Regions from separate parts of the Homo sapiens genome. Here regions 1, 2, 3, 4 and 6 are each linked to region 5. Evidence: promoter capture Hi-C in human tissues and cell types (Jung and others, 2019). All regions are on one chromosome and are shown on one strand. Each heading gives the region's core, a stretch centred on a gene start or on the middle of the fragment in contact. The rest is flanking DNA. Distances are from core to core; before and after follow the strand shown. Region 1 holds the start of LOC105372787 (a long non-coding RNA gene). Region 2 overlaps IFNAR2-IL10RB (IFNAR2-IL10RB readthrough). Region 3 overlaps ITSN1 (intersectin 1). Region 4 has its middle 43 kb from the start of LINC00649. Region 5 holds the start of DONSON (DNA replication fork stabilization factor DONSON). Region 6 overlaps MRPS6 (mitochondrial ribosomal protein S6).

Evidence for each region. The method cuts DNA at HindIII sites, captures the fragments that hold promoters and counts their contacts. A contact is called where the count stands out against the background at its distance.
Region 1: a contact is called between a fragment that was not itself captured here and the fragment with the promoter of DONSON in region 5, in 3 of the 25 tissues and cell types used here (hippocampus, lymphoblastoid cells and stomach).
Region 2: a fragment that was not itself captured here is called in contact with the fragment with the promoter of DONSON in region 5 in 1 of the 25 tissues and cell types used here (lymphoblastoid cells).
Region 3: a contact is called between a fragment that was not itself captured here and the fragment with the promoter of DONSON in region 5, in 1 of the 25 tissues and cell types used here (mesendoderm cells).
Region 4: a contact is called between a fragment that was not itself captured here and the fragment with the promoter of DONSON in region 5, in 1 of the 25 tissues and cell types used here (IMR-90 fibroblasts).
Region 6: a contact is called between a fragment that was not itself captured here and the fragment with the promoter of DONSON in region 5, in 1 of the 25 tissues and cell types used here (lymphoblastoid cells).

The regions. Positions count from the first base shown.
Region 1 is chr21:33,193,699-33,196,398 of GRCh38, forward strand. LOC105372787 (a long non-coding RNA gene) reads right to left here and starts at 1,819. Exons shown (of 3, transcript XR_937675.3): 1 at 1,613-1,819. The HindIII fragment of the contact is 3,695 bases long and covers 1-2,700 here.
Region 2 is chr21:33,255,901-33,258,600 of GRCh38, forward strand. All of the region lies in intron 7 of IFNAR2-IL10RB (IFNAR2-IL10RB readthrough), which reads left to right. The region is part of intron 7 of IFNAR2 (interferon alpha and beta receptor subunit 2); the gene reads left to right. Among named protein-coding and RNA genes, the nearest start is that of IL10RB-DT, 9.0 kb to the right of the region's middle. The HindIII fragment of the contact is 5,563 bases long and covers 1-2,700 here.
Region 3 is chr21:33,849,446-33,852,145 of GRCh38, forward strand. The region is part of intron 29 of ITSN1 (intersectin 1); the gene reads left to right. Among named protein-coding and RNA genes, the nearest start is that of ATP5PO, 65 kb to the right of the region's middle. The HindIII fragment of the contact is 3,852 bases long and covers 1-2,700 here.
Region 4 is chr21:33,972,390-33,975,089 of GRCh38, forward strand. No RefSeq gene overlaps it. Among named protein-coding and RNA genes, the nearest start is that of LINC00649, 43 kb to the left of the region's middle. The HindIII fragment of the contact is 7,091 bases long and covers 1-2,700 here.
Region 5 is chr21:33,587,295-33,589,994 of GRCh38, forward strand. DONSON (DNA replication fork stabilization factor DONSON) reads right to left here and starts at 1,390. Exons shown (of 10, transcript NM_017613.4): 1 at 1,027-1,390; 2 at 228-308. The coding sequence starts at 1,347. CRYZL1 (crystallin zeta like 1) reads right to left here. Exons shown (of 13, transcript NM_145858.3): 13 at 2,047-2,627. The coding sequence ends at 2,528. RefSeq lists a silencer at 931-1,620 and an enhancer at 1,079-1,578. The HindIII fragment of the contact is 19,336 bases long and covers 1-2,700 here.
Region 6 is chr21:34,092,750-34,095,449 of GRCh38, forward strand. All of the region lies in intron 1 of MRPS6 (mitochondrial ribosomal protein S6), which reads left to right. It overlaps SLC5A3 (solute carrier family 5 member 3), which reads left to right. Exons shown (of 2, transcript NM_006933.7): 2 at 2,114-2,700. The coding sequence starts at 2,450. Among named protein-coding and RNA genes, the nearest start is that of SLC5A3, 21 kb to the left of the region's middle. The HindIII fragment of the contact is 6,027 bases long and covers 1-2,700 here.

The DNA.
Region 1 (2,700 bases), core at 184-2,683, 390 kb before region 5:
GCGACTAGAGCAAAACTCCATCTCGAATAAATAAATAAATTCAGAGGTTAATGGCTTGACTCTTAGCATAGACACACAGATGTTACGCTATAGATTATACCAGGAAGAGGTGGGAGGAGCCACACATCCCACATCAGAAATAGCCTTTGGAAAACTGCAAACTGGATTGCGTGTGCGTTTGGCTGCAAAATAAATCATGAGTTTCTCCCAAACATTAGATGGACAAAGGAACAATTCACTTTTTTTCCCCACTGTGATCCATTCACAATGGAGTATATTCCTGGAGGATTCTAAGATGTGTTTTGTTCACTAGAGAAGACTTTTTAGGAGTGTTTAGTTTAGGAAATGCTTAGCTGGCTATAGAAGACAGGCGCACATTCTTATCTGACTACAGAATCCAGGTGTCACCTGTGGAGTTAACACAAGGCCACAGATGGCCGCCTTCAAGGTGACCCTGCCCAGAGCCTAGGGAACAAGGTGAGGGTTGACTGAGAAGGGAAATGGTGGTCCTGCTGAGAAGGACATTCCCCAAGCTCATGGTCTGGTCCACAAGCCATCGGTCACACAGAGGGTCACACAGATATGGGATGCCCAGTTAAATTTTAATTTCTGATAAACAATGAATTTGTTTAGTATAAATAAATATGTCGTAAATATTGTATGGGACATACTAAAAACATTACAATATAATTTAGTACATGTACTATGTACTAGTATATGTACTAAATTTTATATATGTGTATTTTAATATTAAAAGTTAGGCCAGGCACGGTGCTCACGCCTGTAATCCCAGCATTTTGGGAGGCCGAGGCGGCCGGATCACCTGAGGTCAGGAGTTCAAGACCAGCCTGGCCAACATGGCGAAACCCTGTCTCTACTAAAAATACAAAAATTAGCTGGGTATGGTGGCAGGTGCCTGTAATCCCAGCTACTCAGGAGGCTGAGGCAAGAGAATCTCTTGAACCAGGGAGGCGGAGGATGCAGTGAGCCGAGATCGCACCACGGCACTCCAGCCTGGGCAACAGAGTGAGATTCTGTCTCAAAACAAAAAAAAAAAGGAAAAAGAAAAAGAAAAAAAGTTAGTATGTTATACCCAACACATATTCAAGGTTGATCTGAAATTCAAATGCAACTAGGTATCTTGTATTTTTGCTAAATGTGGCAACCCTCGCACACAGCGATTCGCTAGTGGCTTTGGAGGGCAGAGGAGGTAGTTCCCTGAGCCCTCCACGTGACTTTTCCTTCTGTCCTCCCCTTCTCTGCTCAGAGGCCCCTTCCTGGGAGAAGGCTTCGCTGATCACTCTGTATACCACTGCACCCTTTTCCCACACTCCCGGCCCCCTTAGCCTGCCTTTTCCTCCATAACTTATCATTGGATGACATACTACATACTTTGAGTAAATGATTTTTTTCATCTTTATTCTCAGCCCTTTGTATTATGTCTGCCACAGAGTGGGCCTTAAAAAATATTTGTGGAACTGCATGAATGAGAGTGACTCCATGGACAAGGATAAAACACTGAAAGTAAAATAAAGGCAGAACTAAGGTAAATGAGTATTGCCATTTCGACTCACCTGATAGATCTGTGTGTTTTAGTCAGTGCAAAACTCACCTGGCGAAGGGAACACCAATGAATAAGATGACGATTAGGTAGGTCCAAGGTGGGGCCCAAGATTCTGTAGCCCTACCACGTTCCCAGGTGATGCCGATGTAGCAAAGAGAGTCCTTGAAGAGAGGCAGGGCACGGTGCTCACGCCTGTAATCCCAGCACTTTGGGAGGCTGAGGCAGGCAGATAGTTTGAAGCCAGAAGTTTGAGACCAGCCTGGGCAACATGGTGAAATCCAGTCTCTACCAAAAAATACAAAAGTTTATCAGGCATTGTAGCATACACCTGTAATCCTAGCTACTCAGGAGGCTGAGGCACGAGAATCACTTGAACCCAGGAGGCGGAGGTTGCAGTGAGCCAAGATCACACCACTGTACTCCAGCCTGGGTGACAGAGCAAGACTCCAACTCAAAAAAGAAAAAAAAAAAAAGAAAGAAAAAGAAAAAGAGAGAGAGAGAGAATCATTGAAGAAAGCTTGGATCCAGGTAAAAATAAAGAGCAGGACACAACCAGAAAAGTCTGTGGTTCTGTTATATCATTGGACAGTGTAATGAAATGTAATGTGTTTTAAAAAATAAAAATTCTATATTCCTAAATCTTGAATAGATTCCTATTTCAGAAACCATCCATTCTGATGAGTCTCCCTTAGCTCTGAAAGAAAGAGGATAAAAACCAAATACAAGAATAATAAAAACCACCTGTCCAAGATGAACTGGAGAAAGGGTGCTAATCTCCCTGCGACAACTCCTACAACTGTATTTGATCAGGATGATAAGAAAAGTTTTAACTCATGCCTCAAGCAGAGCCACAAGACCTGCCTTTTTTGATGACCTTGAATTCTACAACACAGGCTCCAAACCTCACATCTTGTCAACTCTCACCATGAGAAAAGTAGGAAACACTCTCTCACGTTCCCAAGTACTCACCATACCCCCCAAAATAAGTAAAAGCTTACTTTAAAAAATAATTTGTTTTCAGAGCAGAAATCTTCTAAAAGTTGAATTCTGATTCCGTACACACCTGCGGAGAGGTACTTGCCATGCCCACTGTCTAATATGCTTCTCTTTCTATGAACTAGGGTAGGGGTTACAAA
Region 2 (2,700 bases), core at 91-2,590, 330 kb before region 5:
TTGTTAACAAAAGACACTCCTAACGTTCAGGAAATTCCACAGGTTTTTGAAGCTCTGCTCCAGGAACTAGGGACAAAGACTGGATATATATGTATATTTTATTATATCATTGATCTTACATACAAACGAAACTCTTATAGACAATAAAAACTGAAATTAGTGACCTGGCAGACAGATGGTGGTTTATTGAAACTCAGTCCCCAGTTCCAAGGTGAATGTGTTGCTGATGAGAAGGCACAAGCTCCTTGGAGGTTGATGAATTCTGTGATGACTCACTTTCTCCCCTGACTCTTTTCCATTTCACCTACTAAGATGTTCATGTAACAACATCCTCTCAGGTCATTCCATTTTTACTTGGCGTGAATGCGTCATGTTGCACATCAAGTCAGCCCTCATTCTTTGATTATTACCCGAGATAGGTCAAGTACCGCTCTCTTTAATTATCCAAATACTGTACCTGATGTCAAATTCTTGTTTGAAACTCAGGAAGCAAATAGGTTCAGATAACGTGGCCTCTGTCACTATCTGCTTGCCATCTGACGTGCCCTCAACCAGCCAAACTCAGAAACCAGACAGGTTTGGATGGTGAGGGGTCTTGGAAGGATAGCCTGAGACCAGCATTAACATAGGCTCAGCAGTAAGCACTGTGACCCAATCCTAGGGCAGACTGATATGGGGGGATTTTAGCCCAGACATCTGGAGAAACACCTTCCCCTTGTCAAGCCTTAAAACTAATGGTTTGTCTCTTTTATTAATATTAAGGCCCTAAGGAAAAGCTCTATTCATTCATTTGACAAATGTTTATTGGGGGCCTGTTATGAGCCAGATTCTTTTCTGGATATTGAGGATTTAGCAGTGAACAAAACAGATTAAAAACTTCTCACCTTGTGGAGCTTACATTGCAGTAGGAGACAGAATAACAAGATCAACATGTAAAATAGACAGTATGTTAAGTAAGTACCATGGAAAAAAATTATGCGGGAAAGGAGGTGAGGGGGATGTCAGGTTGAGGAGAGCAGGTTGCTGTTTTTAATAGGATAGTGTCTTGATTTGCATTTGCTAGAAGCAGAGCCTGGGATGTGAATTCATATTCAAGTGTGATTTATTGGTGGGGGCATCTTAGGAGAAGGGGAAAGAGGGAACAGGTAGGTACAGGGAGAGAGAAATTAAGCAGGCATGTGGCTCTCAGCTGAGCCTGATCCCAAGGGGTTCTCGGAAGCGTGAACTGTATCCTCAAGTCAGCAGCCAGTCAGTTACTGGTGGTGATCTATGGCATGGCCTCCAGATGAGGCAGCCCCCTTTTGGGCAAGGGCAGTTCCTTATGTGTCCGGAGTTGGTTCCTGCCAATGGGTTCGTGGTCTCGCTGACTTCAAGAATGGAGCCGCAGACCTTCCTGGTGAGCGTTAACAGCTCTTAAAGATGGCACAGACCCAAAGAGTGAGCAGTAGCATGGTTTATTGTGAAGAGCGAAAGGACAAAGCTTTCACACCCTGGAAGGGGACCTGAGCGGGTTGCCACTGCTGGCTGGAGGTGGCCAGCTTTTATTCCCTTATTGTCCCTTCCCGTGTTCGTTTCTGTCCTATCAGAGTGCCCTTTTTTCAGTCCTCCTCGTGATTGGCTACTTTTAGGATCCTGCTGATTGGTGCATTTTACAGAGCGCTGATTGGTGCGTTTTAGAGTGCTGATTGGTGCGTTTTACAGAATGCTGACTTGTGCATTTTACAATCCTCTTGTGAGACAGGAAAGTCCCTGATTGGTGCGTTTTACAATCCTCTTGTAAGACAAGAAAGTTCCCTAAGTCCTCACTCCACCCAGGAAGTCCAGCTGGCCTCACCTTTCACTTAGAGAAGGATCAGCTCTGAGAGATATCAGCAGACACGTGCGGCAGCAGTAGTGGGTGTGCACTGACTGGAAAAGGGGACATGGGCAGGCCACCCACAGCATCCACCACAGATGGCCACAGATGGCCTTCCTGAGAAGGTAGCATTTGAATAAAGACCCAAGGGAGATGTGGTAAGCAGAATAATGGCCCCCAAAGATGTCTACATCCTAATCCCAGATATGTGAACAGGCTAACCTCTATGCCAAAGGGGCTTGTGGGTGTGATGAAATTGAAGATCTTGGCCAGGCGCAGTGGCTCATGCCTGTAATTCCAGCACTTTGGGGGGCCGAGCCAGGTGAATCACCTGAGGTCAGGAGTTCGAGTTCAGCCTAGCCAACGTGGTAAAACCCCATCTCTACTAAAAATACAAAAATTAGCCAGGCGTGGTGGCATGCGTCTGGAGTCCCAGCTACTTGGGAGGCTGAGGCAGGAGAATCTCTTGAACCCGGGAGGTGGGGGTTGCAGTGAGCCAAGATGGTACCACTGTACTCCAGCCTGAGCTACAGAGCAAGACTGTGTCTCAACAAAAAGAGAAGCAGGAGACTCAGAGGCAGAGAAGGAGCTCTCACAGCAGCAGCAGAGGTCGCAGAGTGAGGATGAAGGAGGGGGCCATGAGCAAAGGAATGCAAGTGGCCTCTAGAAGCTGGGAAAGGCAAAGAAATGGGTTTTCCCCTAGAGCCTCCATAAGGAGTTCAGTCCTGCCAACATCTTGATATTTTTTATCCCAGTGAAACCCATTTTGGATTTCTGATCTCCAGAACTATTAATATAATATATTTATATTGTTTTATGACACTAACTTTGCATCATTTGTTACG
Region 3 (2,700 bases), core at 43-2,542, 260 kb after region 5:
ATCCCAGCTACTCGGGAGGCTGAGGCACGAGAATTGCTTGATCCTGGGAGGTGGAAACTGCAGTGAGCCAAGATTGCACCATTGCACTCTAGCCTGGGCAACAGAGCAAGACTCTGTCTCAAAAAAAAAAAAAAAAAAAGACCTAGTATTTGATACCACAACAGAGCAACTACAATAGTAATTTAATTGTACATTTAAAAATAACTAAAACAGTGTAATTGGATTGTTTGTAACACAAAGGATAAATGCTTGAGGGGACGGATACCCCATTCTTATGATGTGATTATTACACATTGCATCCCTGTACCAAAATAGCTCAGGTGCGCCATAAATATATACACCTACAATGTACCCACAAAACTTAAAAATAAAACAAAAACCAACAGGCTCCTCCTTCATATTCCAATAAAAATGCATTTGTACTTTCATTATAACATGCCAGTCTGCCTTTGTACCCAAAAAACTTATTAACAGGAGCTACTCATACTACAGGAGAGGGCACAGTGAGAGCAGGAAGTCAGGGGTGGGACATAGAAGGGGCCTGGAATGAGCTGAAGCATACCTACCACAGAGGATGTAAAGCTGTGCCAGGAATTCCAGTGCCCATTATGAAGCTATGAATGATACACCCTTTCACTCTCTGAAATGTGCATATTTATGGAAAATTAAGAGATGATTTATCCCTGAGAAGAATTTGATCTTCACCACTTCTCAGCAGTAATTAAACTGCCTGGCAACCCCTGTGGACTGGATTCCCCTCCTTGGGAGAAAACAAAGCTTATTTGGAGTTACATTGGCACTTTTAAGCATCTGGGTTACATCTGAATGGAAGCCTCCCGAGGACCCAGCTACATGGGGCAAGATGTGTCACCAGGACAGGCTGGGTGGGATACCTGAGCTCTGCTGGACCCACGAGGGTCTCTGGTGCCTTTGGGGGCATTCCTTCCCCTCTCACCTCTGTGCCCACCGGCTTCTCCAGACCCCATTAAAAATCGCATCTTGAGGATTTGCAACTCCGAGGTCTCAAGGACTGATAACCGCTTGGAGTGATGCCCTGTGCAAAGTGCCTGCAACTCAGCAAGGATCCAAGTTGGCCTGGGACTCCCAGGTCTAGCAACCAGCAGGCTCCCAAAGGACAAGGACCCGGACTGCCTCCTTCTCACTGAACCCCGGGGCCGAGCGTGGATGCTGCTTCACAGCAGGAGTACACAACTTCATGGCTTGGAGAACGCTGGGGTTTCAGACATCAGCTGCAGGGTAAAGGGACATAGTGTTTGGCCAGAGAACTTTCTTCACGTCATATCCATGTGGCTTCATCTGCTTTTCCTACACGACAGGCCACCCCACACCTACCAGGAGAGGCCCAGGGTGTTGAAGGGAGTGCAGTTAGATTAATTTGCCCAGGAGAAGCCAGTGCAGCTCTGGGGTGCATGGGCTCACCTGGCAGGAGAGACTTGGTCCATGGGGAGAAGCCTGCAGTATAGATGGGACCTCCAGGAGCCCAAGTAGCATAGACCCTGCTGATCCGGGGCCATTGAGCCAGAGGATTTGGGCTGAATGTCCCCAGAGACAAAAGGGAAAGGTAGATCCTTTCCCTTAAAGATGAAAGCCATCGCCCGGGCTTGCTTATTGCTCTCTCTCCTGGTCCTTCCACATGTTGTTTCTGAACATTTGTTCTGGCATCACAATCCCCGTCACCCTGTCATCTGGCCCTTCCCACCTTTCCACCTTATCTCTTGCAGTGTCTCCGCGTCGACCTGGCACCTGGGTGAAGGCTTGCTCTTGCTGGTGCCCATAGCCCCCAGTGTATGGTCTTGACCTCCCCAGCCATATGGAGACCCAGCCTCAGGAGGGCCCCTCGAGGAAGCCTCCCCTTAGCACGAGGAGTTGCTCCCTTCTGAGGTCCTACTGTCTCCACCATCAGCACAGCACACGGGCTCTTTTTTCTTTTCTTTTTTTTCTTTTTTTTTTGAGACAGAGTCTCGCTCTGTCACCCAGGCTGGAGTGCAGTGGTGCGACCTCAGCTCACTGCAACCTCCACCTCCTGGGTTCAAGCGATTCTCCTGCCTCAGCCTCCCGAGTAGCTGGGATTACAGGTGCCTGTCACCATGCCCAGCTAATTTTTGTATTTTTAGTAGAGATGAGGTTTCACCATGTTGGCCAGGCTGGTCTTGAACTCCTGACCTCAAGTGATCCACCTGCCTCAGCCTCCCAAAGTGCTGGGATTACAGGTGTGAGCCACTGCACCCGGCCTGGGCTCTTTTTTTAATGCTTGCTATTTTAATTTCTTTTTTTTTTTTCTCGTTTTTTTTCTTTTCTTTTCTTTTCTTTCCTTTTTTTTTTTTTTTTTTTTCCTGAGACAGGTGCTCGCTCTGTTGCCCAGGCTGGAGTGCAGTGGTGCGATCATAGCTCACTGCAGCCTCTATTTCCTGGGCTCAGGTAATCCTCCTGCCTCAGCCTCCCAAGTAGCTGGGATTACAGGCATGTACCACCATGCATGGATAATTTTTTAAATTTTTTGTAGATATGGGTGTCTCTCACTATGTTGCCCAGGCTGGTCATGAACTCCTGGGCTCAGGCAATCCACCCACCTCTGCCTTCCAAAGTACTGGGATTACAGACATAAGCCACCAAGCCCAGCTGCTTGCTATTAATATTTTTAATTTAATTTTCCTGTTGTGTCTCTCCCAAGATTGTGAG
Region 4 (2,700 bases), core at 188-2,687, 390 kb after region 5:
TTTTAGTAGAGATGGGGTTTCACTATGTTGGCCTGGCTGGTCTTGAACTCCTGACCTCAGGTGATTCCCCCACCTTGGCCTCCCAAAGTGCTGAGATTACAGACGTGAGCCACCATGCCCGGCCCCACACTCATCTATTAAGTAGAGCTAGGAATTCCTATCCTAAGGGACACAAAAATGAAAAAAGATAAAATTTGTGAAGAGGCACATAATGAAAGCCCATACATGTCACTGAGTTCAGAGGAGGGTGGGTCTGACCTCCCATTGGCTGGTCTCTGCCTGATGGACATCGTGAAGAAGAGAGCCAGGACTAGTGTGGCTGGGGGATGTTCAGGGGCCAGAGTGGCTTCAGGTGCCAGCAGCCCTGGCCGAAGGATGACTCCAGGAGCAAGGCTCAGAGCCGAGTGGAAGAAGCTTCATAAACGCAACTGAGCCAAGCATGATGGGATGTGCCTGTGGTTCCAGCTACTCAGGAGGCAGGTGGGAGGATGGCTTGAGTCAGAAGTTCGAGGCTGCAGTGAGCTATGATCACACTACTGTACTCCAGCCTGGGTGACAGAATGACACCCTGTCTCTAAAAAGAAAAGGCACCTGGATGCTCATGACCGAGATGGGGTGGGGTGGGTGGGGTGGGACAGCCGCACTTTATAACTTTGCTTTCAGCATGATGTGGATTAGTGTCTCCCATGTGGGAAAATTATGTTTACCACTTAGAGACCTGATAGTGCTTGCTTACCCCATAACGCTGGACGGTGGCAGGCTTAACTCCCCCATCAAGGGCCTTAATGTATTTGGGGCCCTAGTCCTAGCAACAGCAGCAAATCTCCTTTTTCTTTTCCTCGAGCTGGTTGTTCACCAGGCAGTTGGGATGTTAATGGGAAGAGAAGACACACACAAGTCCCTTGTTTTCAATAAGGCAGTCTGGTCACGTCCTTAGCAGGTTATTAATCTTTTTCAAACCCCTCCTCTCCACCAAGTTTTATGATCCTGGGAAGGAGATTCCTACCTAGCATCCTTAGAGTTATCGGGGGTTAGGATCGGTGCATGCAGTCACTTCCGTGGAATCATCAGTAGCCCTCCAGCCTCTGGGGAGAGCTGCCAGTGGTCAGAGATGTTGGGAATTACGAGGGAGGAGCTAGGGAGAAGGAACTCACAGTCCCTCAGTCTCTGAAGGTGGCTCCTGGCAGGAGAGGGGGCCAGTCCTAGATAAGAGCTCTCCCAGGGAATTCCAAGGGTCCTCCCAAGGTCCAGCCACAAGATGAGGAATTACTGTTGGGCTCTTCCTCAGATGTGCCTGTGAATTCATATCACAGATGCTTGATGCATTTGACAATTGTTTAATTGCTTGAGCCCAACTGATACTCTTTCAGTCACTTTAAGGGAGTGATTTCAAGTATGATCATTGCCTCAAATCTGTATGGCTTTCCTTGCCTTTCAGGTGCTTTAAGAGGGCTTATGTTCTTTGACTCCCCTAGTAACTCAAAAGGGTGGCTAAGATGCAACTCTGGAGGTTTCCAAGCTCTCTGCAAAGCCTGCCTTCAGTAGTCTGTGCACCACAAGAAGCATAACTTTATTATCCTCTAGCTGAATTTACCTCCTGCTTCGAGCCCCTGTTTTCCCATGTCATTTTAGGGGTCCAATGTTTTTCCTGGAGGCATATACACACACACACACACACACACACACACACACACACACACACACACACACACATATATACACACACACATTCCAGGGGCCTCTGAGGTGCCAAGACATGTGTGGGGTCCATCTGGTTCACACTGATGTCCATGATCATTGAGTTCATTTTTTATATCAACTATGTGACACTTCCTATAGTTTCCAGTTCCTGGTTAGAATTTGCAAAGTTGCCGACTATTTCTTTGAATAGAGTAGCTAGATCATGGGTCTACACCAGTCATCAAGCAGCGATTTCCCTGTTGGAAGCTCCAAGCAAATTGTCAGCTCCAGCATTCCACACAGCTGTGGGTGCCACACTCCTTTTCCTTTTAAAAGATGATGATCTGCTAGTGGTGAATGCTCTTGGAGTTTTATTTGTAGGTTTTTCTTGTTGTCGCAAATGTCTATATTTCATCTTCCCTCTTGAGGGATATTTTCCATGGGTAGAGGATCTAGGCTTTTCTTTTGGATTCCATTGTGGCTTTAAAAAAAAGTCAGTTGACTGTTTATTTATGGCTTCTCTAAAGGTGATCTCTTTCTTCCTAAGGCTGCTTTAAAAGTTTCCGTTCCCTCCCTCCCTTCCTCCCACCCCATCCCCCTTCTTCCTTTCCTTCCTCCCTCCCTTCCTCCCTTCTCTTCCTCCCTTTCTCCCTTGTCTTCCTCCTTTTCTCCCATCCTCCCTTCCTCCCTCTTTCCTTCTTTTTTCCCTTCCTCCCGCCCTCCTTCCTTCTTCCATCATTATATATTAAAATATTTTCTTTCTTTCTTTTTTTTTTTTGAGATGGAGTTTCGCTCTTGTTGCCCAGGCTGGAGTGCAACGGTGTGATCTTGGCTTACTGCAACCTCCACCTCCCTGGTTCAAGCGATTCACCTGCCTCAGCCTCCCTAGTAGCTGGGATTACAGGTGCCCGCCACCACACCCAGCTAATTTTTGTAATTGTAGTAGAGATGGGGTTTCACCATGTGGGCCAGGCTGGTCTTGAACTCCTGAACTCAGGTAATCCACCCGCCTTGTCCTCC
Region 5 (2,700 bases), core at 140-2,639:
TAGCGCTGGCTATCTTTACAGTCATCATTACTGTATCAAACCAACTCCTTTACCTTGGCTGATGCGGTATTTTCATCCCTGGTTGAGATGATCAAGCCTCTCTGTAAAACTACTTTCCAAGCAAAATGCTTCTGAGAAGTATAAATGTATTTTTAAAAATAGGCTCAAATCCTATGAAAAAAAAGTTTATACAAATACACATTCTAATGATATTTAAAAAGTATTACCTGAGGTAATTCAGTAACAGTTGTTCTTTCAGGAAACTTCTCTTCCCATAGCAAATCATTTTCTTGATTAGAATCTAAAAACTGAGGTTAAATATATTCTCCTTTAAAATTTAAAGGATGCTGAAGTTTGCGTTAAATATGTACAGAGCCTCACCTGGCATACATGTTTCTCAATAAACGCAAGTACACCTAAATTCAGAGGCACCCCATCCAATCTATGAGTTTCAACACTTCAGTTTTGTGTCTGAACTTTAGTATCAAAATTGAGGGGAACAGGGACCGGCGTTTCAAACCGAAAGATCCAAAAGGCTTTGGGTAAGACAGATGCTAGTGAATTCTGACCCCACGAATCCTCGACATTCCCCCATCTCCAGAATAATTTGGAGTGCGTGAGAGAAGGGAGGCCCTAAATCACGGGGGAAGCAGGGCTTGTCACCTGCCCCATCGAACAGCGTCCTTGCAAGATGGGGGCTCTCAGGGTTTTTCGAGCTCTTTTCCAAGTCACCTCTAAGTCCTCTCCAAGGGGCTCCTCGCTGCCCTCTGGGGCCCCCTCACTTTCCTCGGGAACGCGTCCCGTGAGCACAGCCCGCAGCGGGGTAGCCAGGGGAGCGCTCTTCCCACAAACCCGGCCTTGCCAGAATCGCGGCTCCCAGGGCGGGGTACCCTAAGGCCACGGGCGGCCGAAGTCTTCGCGCCCATTTCCTTGCCTCGAACGCGAGGACTTTCCATCCCCCATTCACAGCTGGCTCAACCCACGAAAGACAAGAGCCCCTTGGCGGCCAGGCTACAAGACACTCACCGGGACCGGGGCCTCCGGCTGCTCGCGGGCCGGCCCGTCGGGGGGCTCCGCGGCGACCCGCGGTCGGTTGTCCAGGCGGGCGAAGGGGTTCCTCCGAGCAGCGGCCGGGCCGCCGCCGCTGCCACCGCCTCTGCCCCCCGCAGCAGGGAAAGGGCGAAGAGGCAGCCCCGCCACCAGGGCGGCTCGGCGGGCCGCCGGCTCCGTCAGCTCACGGGGCGGGGAGGCGGCAGCTCCACGGCTCCGGGCCCTTTTCCGTCGGAGCCGCACTACCTCGGGCGGCTTTCGGAAGCCCGGTGAGTAGCCGGGCACCGAAAGGGCCATGACGCGCGGCGGCTGAGGGTAGCCGGCCGCCCTACAGAGACTTCCCGCGCGCGCCGGGCCCGCCCCTGACGTGGCGCCTCGCCGAGCTCCCGCCCCCGACGCGGCCCCGCCTCCGCCCCCGCCGGTTCCGAGCGGAGCATGCGCAGTGGGCAGCCCGCGAGACGCAGCCCGCAGCGGCGATCCCGGGTGGCCGTCAACGCCCACTGTCCCAGCGGTGACCCTGCCCTGGCGCTTCTGCCAGGTCCTCGGCCAGAGTCCAGTCGCCAGGTTCAGCGACGCTTCTGGAAAGTATGCGATCCAGGGCGCTGATGTGCACTACCCTGTGGGGCACCGAAATAGCTTAACTCTATTTAAGCCCGCAGCAGGGATGTGATCAGCCCGGGGTTTGGCGCCTGGATGAAAAGGAAACAAACTTGAGCTGCGGCGATGGGCTGCTGCTTCCATAAACTTAAGAGAGGGCAGTGGCTACTGCTCTCAAGAGGCGAGGAGAGGGGACTAGGCCACCTTCCTCAACCCCCAGAGAACTCAGATAAGACGTCAGCACGCTTCCTATGCCAGCGCAGCCTACCGACATCCCTCCCTTCCCCGTTCCCAGTGCCTGGTCATCTCAGACTTCCAGGCAGCTGCCACTGGCAAGTTAATGGGATCTTCTTTGATCCTGGGGAAAGCCGGAGTGAATGAATAGTTGAAAACACAAAATTTAAGTGCCTATGGGCTAAGTCTTTTAAGACTTCAAAATATACTCAAATGCTTAAATTATGACAGCAAAGACTTAAGGAAGGTGTTGAGAACGGAGTTGATACAAAATTAATACGTTACTTTGATAGCTTAGCAAAGGCCTGCAACAGCTTTTATCAAGAGTAGTGTGACTTTTGCTGAAAGCAGCAGTTTTCTTCATGGAAGGAATTTTATAGCAGGGGCAAAATATATAGAAACAATGAAAAGGTTTTTAGAAAAATTCCCTTAAGATGTTAATTATAGAATTATCTTGATCATTTGCACAAGAATTTTTCAAACACTTTTCAAATGTGTCAACTGAGCATCTTGTCTTAGCAGAGAAACGTGCTTAAAAATGCAACTTGTTTTATCTTCCTTGGTTTTTCTCAACAATTTCCAAAGAAAATTCTGGCTTCAAATACTGGAATATGTTCATCCGACTGAGGTCTGAGAAAGAAGAAAATTAAAATTGAACAACTTGCTTTTTTCTTCCTTGATTTTTCTGAACAGCTTCCATGGAAACTTTTGCCTCATACAGTGGAATGGGTTCATCCAACTGAGGTCTGAGAAGGAATGAAATTAGAAATGTCAGGTCTAGTTAAAGATAAGTAGAACAAACAGGGTGGTATATGACAA
Region 6 (2,700 bases), core at 62-2,561, 510 kb after region 5:
TAACCCACCCTATTTCCCCCCCAACGGCCAGATGAAACCAGAAATACCCACTGTGTTTTTCTCTCCCTTCTTTGGAAAGCACGTGGTTGCTACTGCCATTGGGAAGAGTGATACCTGATTAGCCAGGTAGCCTTCTGAAAATTGAAACAAGTGGCCTGAGGATGACTTGGATGGCTGTTGGGTAGCAGAGAGCCCTGGAGGCAGGGTTTCATAACTGCGAACAGCAGTTTTCATTGTAATTGACACAGCAGTTTTCATTGTAATTGACAAGCTTCCCTTATGCAGAAACATTTAACGATACCTTTTTAAATAATGTTTACTAGTCATCTGATTAGATTTTATTAAAAATTTAGATGATTCGTCCTACATAATGTCAAAGCATTTGTTTAAAAACTTGGAAGCTTTTGGGGGTGGGGAAGGTGGTCATAGAAATATGATCATCTTCAGGATTTGGCAGGTATGAAGTGATACAAACCTCAACTTTTAAGATTTTTTTTTTTTTTTTTGCTTTTCTCTGGCAATCAATCTTATTTATGCCAGCCGTTGACACTTAGAAAGGATTTAAATCACTTTTCATAGCATAATTATTGTATTGCTTAATGCTTTAAAAAGGCACGCAGATGGGATTGAGACATTTCTATCCAGGCAGTTTTTTCTGCATTAGACCTAAGAACCTAATTTTGTAGGGCAGTAGTCTCTAGGCATTATGTTTAGCTCCTTTTGTCAGTGAGAAGTGTGTTGTAAAGTTTCTAATACTGTGGTCTGTTTTGAACGGTTTTGAGAAGAGGTAGCTTTAGTATAATTTATAGGACTTAAAAGGAAAATGCCTAGAATCATCAGAAAAAGCATGGAAAAACATTCTTCTCTGAGGTTGCCTTATTGGAAAAGGAGAAATCATTTAGAAGTTAATGTGTGGAAGGCATTAGGTTGAATAAAATTGTTGTTCGTATTGATCTGTCAGCTGCAATTACAATTAACTGAAAATTTAGTATTTGTCTCTTTTTCAGGAGAGAAGCCGTCAAATTTTAATACATTTAATTTTAGGTATATTTAAATGTCTGTTTTGCAGAGTGATTATCTTAATCCAGAACTGAAAAATTCCTGATGGTCCTACTGAAGATTTATCTAATGGTCCACAAATGTCTGTTTTGTTGAGGTTTGGCGGACATAATAATAAATCATTTTTTAGTCTTCTGAAAACTTTTCTCCTCCTCCCTCTTTTCTCTGCTTCTTATACCCTTCAACAAAAAGCATTAAAAGGAAAACATAAAATCACGCCTTTAGTCAGTGCCGTTATCCTCTCAGAGGTTGTTTTGGAAATACTGCCTGATGAAAAGGAAGAGAAGGAAATTGCTTCTTTTAAAGTTTGCTTTTTATCTTCTTGCAGCATCTTCTAACTGGCAGAAATAATACAATTTTTGAGTTGTTTTGTAAGTTGGATATTTTTAGTTTTGTGTGGAATGTCGTGTTTCCCATTAGGGCAGGGGGCGTCTCACAAGATCTAGGTTACTGTATGACAACTATATCCATTTACTGGAGTTTAAGAAGCTTTATAACAATACATTTCCAGAGACTAGGCAGTACTTGGTTTTCTGTATTTAAATTTTCTGAGGGTAGATGATAACATCTAGTAAACACCACCTGCCTGTTCCATCCAGGACCCTAACTGGCCATAAAGTTACCCCCAAACTCTCTTAGGATTCATAGTATTTTAAGATTTCATTTTTGTGCCCTTATTACGAATATAATTAGTGTTTTCTCCCCTTTAGGGTGCTTTAAGATCTTAGTGCCTGTCCTAATCTGAGCATACCACAGTAAGACAAGAAAGGGCAATGCTGTGGTAGGCAGTTAGCTGCTGAAGTTAGGCCACTTAGTTATGAGGTAGATGAATTTCTGTCCTCAGCTCAAAATGATAATATTCTCACTGACAAAAGTATCAGCTGTGATCATATAGATTGCTCTTTCCTGTGGAACTGAAGTGTATTAAAAAAATTTTTTTTCTTCCAATAAAGAATGTCTCGTTGCGCCGGGTTTGCTAGACTGAAAGTTTCCTCATCACGTGGCGAGACCTCCTCTACTTCAATCTTTGTCTTTTGTCTCTGCTGCCTTGCAGGGTTGGTACAGTAGGCTTCACTAGACTTAGCTGCAACTCAGAATTTCTCCTCCAGCACCTGAGTAAATGCTGATGGTCTTGTGGAGAGTGGATTAAGAGTACGAGCTAAGTTCTCAATCCCAATTAAGAAGCGGAAAATTTAAACTGTCTTCTTCAAAGTTTATCACAACCACCACCATCAAGACAGCAAACCAAAGGACAAAGACTTTGACCCTGCTGTGTTGCTCTGTGTAGTCCAGTTCACGTATGGTTTACAGACTTGGCTGGGGTTACTAAAAATAAATAAAAAGTTGGACACTTCTGTCATTGGAGCGCTATTATTCACAAGTTACCAGAATGAGAGCTGTACTGGACACAGCAGACATTGCCATAGTGGCCCTGTATTTTATCCTGGTCATGTGCATTGGTTTTTTTGCCATGTGGAAATCTAATAGAAGCACCGTGAGTGGATACTTCCTGGCGGGGCGCTCTATGACCTGGGTAGCAATTGGTGCCTCTCTGTTTGTGAGCAATATTGGGAGTGAGCACTTCATTGGGCTGGCAGGATCTGGAGCTGCAAGTGGATTTGCAGTGGGCGCATGGGAATT